2 separate regions of the Homo sapiens genome follow, and region 2 is linked to region 1. Evidence: promoter capture Hi-C in human tissues and cell types (Jung and others, 2019). All regions are on one chromosome and are shown on one strand. Each heading gives the region's core, a stretch centred on a gene start or on the middle of the fragment in contact. The rest is flanking DNA. Distances are from core to core; before and after follow the strand shown.

The links. The method cuts DNA at HindIII sites, captures the fragments that hold promoters and counts their contacts. A contact is called where the count stands out against the background at its distance.
Region 2: a fragment that was not itself captured here is called in contact with the fragment with the promoter of EFNB1 in region 1 in 1 of the 25 tissues and cell types used here (IMR-90 fibroblasts).

What each region holds. Positions count from the first base shown.
Region 1 is chrX:68,826,699-68,831,045 of GRCh38, reverse strand. It overlaps EFNB1 (ephrin B1), which reads right to left and starts at 2,025. Exons shown (of 5, transcript NM_004429.5): 1 at 1,142-2,025. The coding sequence starts at 1,269. The HindIII fragment of the contact is 29,584 bases long and covers 1-4,347 here.
Region 2 is chrX:69,196,297-69,200,643 of GRCh38, reverse strand. All of the region lies in intron 1 of LINC00269 (long intergenic non-protein coding RNA 269), which reads right to left. Among named protein-coding and RNA genes, the nearest start is that of LINC00269, 19 kb to the right of the region's middle. The HindIII fragment of the contact is 8,137 bases long and covers 1-4,347 here.

The sequences.
Region 1 (4,347 bases), core at 776-3,275:
ATTGAGAGGAAGGGCAATTTTGACCCTTGGTTCCAACCTGAGTCCTGGATGCCAAAAGAGAAGGTCCAGAGGTCACTACAACAGCCCCAGCGACTTCCCACTAAAAGCCCAGAAACCACTGAGCCACCGCCCTGAAAGGTGTGCGTGTTGTTTGGAGGGGTTGTGTGTGTGGTGGTGGTGGGGTAGTTGTGCAGAGGAAGGAGAAGAAAGAAAAGAAAGGATGTCCTTTATATAGCTGCCCACTCCCCGCCCCAACCCCTTGGGGAAAACTAAGCACAGCTTCCCAATCTGGGGGACAGACTCGGGGGCCAAGGGGACCTGCCTGGGCAGGAATCGCTCCTTCTCCACCCACCTCCCTCAACAGCTCGGCCGCCACTCTCCGCCCTGGCGGGCCCTTGAAGCTCTGTTACCGGCTCCATTGGACCCCTGACGGGCACTGGTTCGAACCCCCACTACCCAACGACCACTCTCCCACTCCGCCCCTCTCCACCCGCTGCCTTTGTGAGCCTGGGAGCAGCGCCCGCCTTTCTACCGCTCCGGCAGGGAGAAAGGAGGGGCGGGGGGCAAAAAGAGACAGCAAAGCAAAAAGCCAGGGAGGAAAACAGGGAAGAAAGAGAAATGAAAATGGGAGAAGCCCGAGTGGGGATGTTGGCGCTGCCACCCACCCCAAGCGCCGGGTCCCGCTCTGTGTTCCCTCCACAGCTACGCAAACGAGGAACCCGTGTTCTGGCCTCGTCCCTCGCCCGAGTCAAGCTCGCTCCTGGAGCGGCTCTCGGCGAAAATCACCACGTTCCCAGGGGCCCCGGAGGGAGCTGCGTTCTCGCCTCCACTCAGTTCTCCGGTGCGCTCTCGGGCGCCCGGACTCCCCAGCTCCGCCTGTGCGACCACCTCGACTTCATCCAAGACGTGCAGAGGCAGGGGGTGGGAAGCCCGGGGGGTCACAACCCAGCCAAGTGCCCCTACCCCACCCCGCCGCACCCTGCTCCATCCGCCCGCCCGCAGGAAAACACTCGAAAAAGCCGGAGACAAAATGAGGCGCCGCTCCTCCTCCGAAGACCTCCCCACATGCACTCCGGGGCGTGCGGCCTCACCCTGAAGGAGTGCCTCCCACCCCAGCGTCCAGAGGAGATAAGTTACTCACTTGGGGTTGAGGGAGCTCCAGGATACGGGCTCCAGGTTCTTGGCCAGCGGTGTGGCGAGCCGGCACAGCGCCCACACGACCATCGCCACAAGCCACTTGCCGAGCCAACGCTGCCCAGGCCGAGCCATCTTCCCGGGGGCAGACTGCACTTCGGGATCCCTTGGCGCCTCCTCACCAAAGCTCGCCTCGCCTTCCTCTGCCGCGCTGCGCTCGGAGCCGCTCAGGCGCCCATCCTCCGCAGCCGCCGGCCTTGAAGTGCTCCCCTCCCGCCGGCTTCGGTGTCGCTCTTCTCCGCCCGGCCGGCCAGGAGGACTCACTGGGCAGCCGCCCCCAACCCGGGCATGGGCTTCGGCCCCCGAGGGCTCGTTCTCCTGGGCTCTCCGCTGCCGCACGAGGCGCGACGGGGGCTCTGCGCCCCCGGGTGATCCCGCCCGATTCCGCTCGACTTCCCGAGACGCTTCGGGGCTGCGCGCCCTCTCCCCGACGGGGTCTTCCCGCAGAGGTCTCGGTGACCGCCCCGACGCCTCGACCGTCCCGGGATCGCTGTCCCTTGGAAGAAGTGGGGGTTTCCCCACAGCACAAGCTCGGTCCCCGGGCTCCCGACTGGGCCGCCCTGGCACGGGCTCCGTTCCTCCGGGCCACACTGGGACTCCGGGCTACGCGCCCCCGGACAGCTTCTACTTCAGCGCGGGCCCTGCTCAGTGTACTTAGAAGAGCGGGGAGATGCTGCCGAGCGAGCCAGTCCCATTAGTTTGCGCCCCCGAAGCCTCGGCCGGGTAGCCCGGCAGCCTCGCGTCGCCGAGTCCTGGCTCCCGGGCGATCGAGCCCGAGGGTCTGCGGCCAGTGCGAGCCTCACAAACCTCCCACTGCTGTCCAGCTCGCATAGACTCCCTCCGCTGCCGCTGTGCTGTCTACTCCCTTGCTCAGGCGAACGCAAGGCCAACCCTGCTCTCTTAGCCAATAGCAAGCTCAGTGGCGGGGTCCTTGCCCCATACCACGCCCCCAGAGCAGGAAGGGGGCGGGGTTTCAGGGAGCTCTTAAGGACGCCGCGCGCCCGATGGCACCAATCTGAGTGTGCGGCTCGTGCGGTTAGGGTTGGGTCCCTCTCAGTCCTGTTCCCAGAGAGCTCAACCCGTGGGAAGTTGGCACTCTCAAGAGCTGCCGGCCTGCTCTCCTCTCCACGCGTCTGGTCAACACCCCAGCCCACTGACCCTGTCCCAAGTACCCCAGGAAAGTATTTCCATTTTCTTTTTACACACAGGACCCCTGAAGTCCTGCTCTGTGCCCACCTCCGTGTCAAGGACAGCCTGTCTGCTCCTCGTCCAGTCCCACGTAAGGCTTTAGTGGGCTTTCCTCCTCTCGCCCTCAAAATGCACTGTCTGCTTGCACTTGGACCCGGAGTCAGGAACATAAAAGTGAGAACAGTGGGAGGGGGAAACTGGTGAGGGTCCAGTACTTGATTGGGGTTAGAGGTGGGGCGGGGAGCAGGGTGGGGTGTGGTGGGGAGAGAAGGCGTGTTCATCGCCCCTGGGGACCAGGCCTTCGGAATCTCAGCTTTCTGGGGGAGCCTTGTGGGACCTCTGGAGCCAAGATTTAGTCTTGTCCTGTCCGAAGGCGCGGGCAAGGTCCCGGGATAGGCAAGCGGGGATGAGAGGGCACGTCGATAAAGAAAGACACCTCGAGGGCAAAGAGGAAAAAGCACAGGGCATGAGACTTTTGAAAAAGCAAAAGCGGGCATCCTGGACCGGAGAAGCCGGACTCCAGCCTGTCCCGGCCTCGCCATCTGGGTCTTTGTCTCCCAGCCCTGGCCCATTCTTCCCGCCCCGCCTTGCCTCTTTGCTTATAACTTGGCTCGATCCCATAGCTCAGACCTTCCAGGTCCGACCCACTCTCGCTGGTCGGACCCCAGAGGACGTACCCACGTGCTAATGTCTCCCCCTGCTGGACTTCCATAGCACTGCGGGCGCCTGGGATAAACCCGGAGCTTGCCATAGCACAAGACCTGGGACAGGCGTAGCCTTGGCAAAAACCGTCACCCTGTATGGGGAGGAAGGGAAAGAACTAGAAGGATATCTGAGTTTGGGGTAGGCTTAGGGACTGCCAAGAATACAAGGTCTCCCCACTTTTTCTTTATGGAGATAATTAGATGAGCAACATTCCCAAAGTGCTCCACCATTCACACAGTTTCATGTCCATCATCTCGCTTAATAGGTGACTGAGCTACTGCGTTTCTCAGTGGATCCTCTGATGATCTTTGTGGCTGTAGAGGTGGGAATAGCCCAGATTTTGTCTTTTTATTTTCTCCCAAATAGAGGAGAAAATAGGGAAAATCTGGGCCCTTCCCACTTCCAGGGGCAGCCCTTGAGGGTGAAGTGGCTCTGGGTAGGTAGGGAAAGAAGGAGCTGTTTGGGGTCTCTGAGCTCTCAGCTGGACCCTGCATTGGGGTGTAAGGAAGGAGAGATGAGATGAATAGGGTGTAGGGACACACCAGTAGTCTAGCTGGGAGACTGGGATCCCTGGAGTGCATGCTAGGACATCAAAACCTGAATACAGAAAGCAGCCTGCTGCTTACTGAGTGCCTACTATTGTCAAGAACCAAGTTAGATGCTTTTCCTTTCATAACCTTTTGAAATGAGTTTCAGTATCCCCATTTTACCTACAGGGGAAAGTAAGGCTCAGAGAGAAGTGACTCATCTGAGATCACCAAGCTGATCAGTGGTGAAAGCAGGATTTGACTCCTGGGACATCTGTCTCCAAAGCCTGTGGCCATTCCCCTGTACCATACTGGCTCAAATTCCCAGCCAATCCTTGCTTCTTTGCTTCTTTGGTTCATTCCTGGTTAAGGCTGGGTCGTGCATGGACAGCAGCAGCCTGGGGCTGGCCAGGACTCTTCCCTCACTGTCCTTCAAGAGGTTGCCAGGCCTGGAAAGTTCATCTATATTCCTGGCCATAGCCCAGAGTTCTTCTCATCTAAGACCACCACTGCCAACCCTAGAGCCAGCCTTGATTCTTCCTCCCCACAGCCAGCATGCCCGGTGCCCCACAGGAGGAGAGCCCAAGGCCAGGTGGGGGATGGGGAGATGAGGCTATGCGGCCAGTCTTGGGAAACATGGGAAGACAAGCAGTTCCTGAGTGTGCCAGCACCTAATCCCGGTGGGCAGGGTGGCAGAGGAAATGAGAAGAAGACTCTTTATGTCCAGACCTGC
Region 2 (4,347 bases), core at 1,381-3,880, 370 kb before region 1:
GCTATGCAGGAATAGCCACAGGCAGCTCTGAGGTTGGGTTGTGGTCTAGAGTGGGGTTCATGCTTGGCAGCTGAGGCAGGCCACCCCAGCCCAGGCTCCCGCTCCAGGCAGGGAGTTGTAAATTAGAACCTCCAGCCTTCTAATTTAAGGGACCAAAATAAGCCCAGGAACATTCCTGCTGGGGCCCCAGCAGCCCAGCCTTCAGGCAGCAGCTAGGCTCTGTCCTCAAGCCCTGAGTTGCAGAGGTTGGGGAGCTGGGCAGCCAAGGATGGCTAAAGCCTGGGTGACAGGACGTACAGGAGGTATGGGAGGGACTGGGTCGAGGCATTTGTCTGTGGTTCTATAATCAGTCCACTTTAGTTCAGTCTGAGTCCCTATCAAATGTTTAACATCAGGCACTGGACTAGCTTAGCCCTGGGATGACAGTGGTGAGTAATGCTAGGATTTACCCATCTGGGAGAAACCTTAAAGACCATTTGAGCCAAACTTCTCATGTTATAGATAAAAAAAACGAGGCCCAGAAAGGAAAAGACACTGACCCCAAGTCACACAGAAAGTCAGGGGGCAGAGCCAGGACTAGAATCAAGGGCTGTAGTGCAGAACTAACTCCACCCCAAGCAGACTTTGGGGAGCATCGGATAGAGCTTCAGATGGCCTGTTGGGTGTGTCCTACAGGAACCTGGAATTCAGTCAACATGCAGGAACTGTGGGAGGCCTCCCAAAGGTGAGGCCTTGGAACTTGGCCTGGGGACAGGGCAACCTAGGCATAGAGAACAGGCCACATGAAGTCACAGAGGTGGGGAATCTCACAAGCCAGAACCAGGAACGTGATGTGGTCTAAGAGTTGCATGGGTGCATGGATGTCTCTCCCTAGCTCATGTTCCAGTGGACACGTTCCCCAAGAGTACCTGCTGCCTCTCTTTCTCAAGAGGAAAGGAAGCTGAATTGTTGATGAGCATCCTTATCATCACAGCTAACATTTTTTGAGGGCTTACTATGTGTCAGGCTCTGTGCAAAGTGTTGTCTCATTTGATCCTCATAACAACCTTATGAGGTGGGGCTATTATTAACCGCCTTTTAAAGATGAGAATACTGAAGCACATAGAGGTCAAGTAGTTGGTTAAGTTGACACAGGGGATTTGTACAGAGGAAGTCTGATTCTAAGGTCTGTGCACTTAACCATCACACTATAATAGTGTTAATGATAACTGTAATAATAAGCTAGTGTCTGCTGAATATTTACTATGGGCCAACCACTGTTCAAAGGATTTCATAGGGAGTAGCTTGTTTGATCTTCCCAATGACTTTATGGGGTAGGTATTATTACTATTATTGTCATCTCTAATTTACAGATGAGAAAACTGAGGCAGAGAGAAGTAAAGAGCTAGTATTGCTTCTGCAAGACCTTGCCAAGTAGACAAGGGAGAAAGGATTTCCAAGGCAAAGGGAACAAAATGGAAGCATGAAAACAGCATGGCAGTGTCTGGGAGAGCCCAGCAGTCAGACTGTACTGTAGGGTGGGTAGGATGGGGAGAGACATTGGATGGTCCTGGAGATTGCCCCCCTGCCCACTGAAGGAGTGCTCTGCAATGGCCCTGACGAGAGGGAAAGAGAGGGTTCCCCTGGTTGCTCAGGATTTGAGAGCTGGGTTGGGAAGCCTGAAACATCCTAAGAACCCTCCCTGCCTCAATGGGCTAGGTGAGGCCAGGGCAGGCGTCAGTCGAGGGAACAAAAAGTACAGGACTCAAGCCACATCCCCCAAGGAAAGCAGGGACAGAGGGTGTCTCTGTGGGGTCTCTTTCCTCATCATCAGGAGCTTGGCACCCCTGGGAATTGGATAGTTCTCAGAGACCCAGGGAATGTCAGGGTCTTTAGTGTGACAATCCAGTCCCACCCTTTTATAGCAGCAATGTAAAAGCTGAGGTTGGGAATGGTGGAGGGACTCATGCGATGTCACATGGATAGGAAGTGGTGGAGCTGTGGCTCAACTCCCAGTCCTCCAGAGTTCTTTCTGCTACCCTGCATGGCCTCCTTTGGAGCAGGCCCTTGAAGTCAGAAGAGACCTGAGTATGAATGATGGTGGATTTCTTGCCTGAAACCATGGAGACCAGAGGAAGTGTCACAGTATTTTTTAAATTCCAGAAGAAAAGAACTGTCAACCCAGAGAGTTCAATATCCAGTGAAAATATCATTCAAGAAGGAAGCAGAAGTAAAGACATTCTCAGATGAAGAAAAACTAAGAGAATGTGTTTCCAGCAGATCTGCTCTAAAAGAAAAGCTAAAGAAAGTTCTTCAGTCGAGAGGGCAATGAGGGAAACTTGGGACAGGGGTAGACTTGCTTTTTTCTGTCATATTGGTCCTCAGTGCCCTCCCCCATCTTAAACCCTCTTCTATTACAGTCCCTCCCAGCCTGGGTGCCCTATCCTCTTTGCCCTCTGGCTGGGGCAGAGATCCAGGAGTCCAAGGCCTGGGTTTGTAAGCCAGGTGAAAGCTAAGGGGAATATGCACGGGACATGGATTCCTGGATTGCAAATTGTGCTTAATACCACCACCAACTAGCTGTGCAACCTCAGGCAGGTTTCTTGTCTTCTCTGAGCCTCCATCTGGCTACTGGGGATAATTACCAAGCCTTTTGTGTGGCTGGGACAAGAGAAGGGGAGGGAAGCCTGTTAGTGGTGTGTGAAAGGGCCGTCCAGATGGGAGGGATGGTTATCATCATTCCTCTGCTAGTGCCCTCCTGTCCAGCCAGCCAGGCATCTGCAGTGGGGTGGAGGATGGGGGCAGGCCACTTAGCAACTCAGCTTCCTTTTACTTCCTCCCTGGGGCCTTTGCAGTTCTGGATTCCAGGGCTTTGATGGAAGGGTAGGAGCTGCCTCTTTGCATTAGCAGCTTGGGCTGCCTGGCCTGGGCCTACCTATTTTCTTGGAATCTTTTTGGCACCAACAGCTTCTTCTTCACACATGCTATTAAAAGAGAAGGAAGTGGGCCAGAAGTGGGGTGGCTCTTCCACCAGGATAGCTGTAGGGGCACCAGCTGATCCATGGGTGCTCGGGTGGAAGGCGGGGACTTCTCCAGCAGTAGGTTCGGCCCTGAATGCAAAGCTCGAGGACAGGGAGAAAAGAGGACAGGTAGGAATAGCTGTTGCGGCTAGGTTGTAAGATAAGGACAGGAATGTAGCCAGGCTTGTACACAGAACCATGGCTGCCAGAGGAGCCCAGGGATCTGGCTTCTAGACCCATCAACCTGCTTGCCAATCTTTGGCATTCTCCTTTCCCTCCCCAAGCCTCAATTTTCCAGCTGTAATGGTGTACTTGTGTGTGTATGCATATGTGTGTGTGAGGGGAGGGCTAGGCTACTGACCTCTGAGGTCTCTTCAAGCTTGGACACACTGTGGTTCTAATGAAGTAGTTAAGGCCTGAGGCAGGTGGCTGGCGGGGGAGCTGGGGGCTCCTGAAAGCTATCTGGGGGAGCTGGTACAATGTGGTCTTTGCTAGAGTGCTTTGTTGCTGACTGAGGACTGGGGAGTTGCAGCTCTGCTCATTATCATCTACATAACCTTCAGCAAGTCACGTAATGTCTCTAATTTCCCAAGGCCAGTTTTACCCCCACCTTGGTAGGACATTGCCCTTGTGGAGAACAGAAGATCCCCTTTGCATCTGATAAGAGGGCTTGTAGCATAGCTATGAGAGGGATCTGCGCCAATAAGTCTCCAGTGTGGTTCCCACATCCAGCCTGGCCAGCCCCCTGCACGGTTGGCTCCTTGACAGGCTGCCACCAGACCTCTCAGCCTCCAGGGCTTTGAGCAGACTGGCTTGCCTCTGGCTGATTCTCCTGGGGCAATCATGGGTCTGGACTGTACCATTCCTCCAGCAGGTGCCCCCCCTACCCCCTCAGCAGATGGCAGGGGGTTTCACCTTTACCCTGAGGTCACGACATGTACTAGTTTACAGGGCTTTAAATTAGGCTGGGGCCAGGCACAAAATGATCAAGACCAGTGAGGGAGATGTCTGTGTTGGCCCCTTTCGTTGTGACCCTAAAGGACATACATGGAGGGGAAAAAGAAGTTATTTGGAGATATAGTGAGTTCAGAAAGCCCAGGGCTGGCTGGGGCATTTGGAGAAGCCAAAGAGCTTGGTCAGTTAGAAAACAATATCAGCTTGGGCATAGGCTGCAGTAGCTGGAGAGAGTTCAGGGAGGGAGGGGGGAAGGCCAGAAGCTCAAAGAGCTCCCTCCTGAAGCCCCCTGACAGACAGCCAGATACTCCTCATGAAAAGAAGCATTTCAGAAATGATTCCCAATGTCAGGGTCCACTGGGAGGGGTCAGGTGAGGAGAAGCAGTCCCGGAAG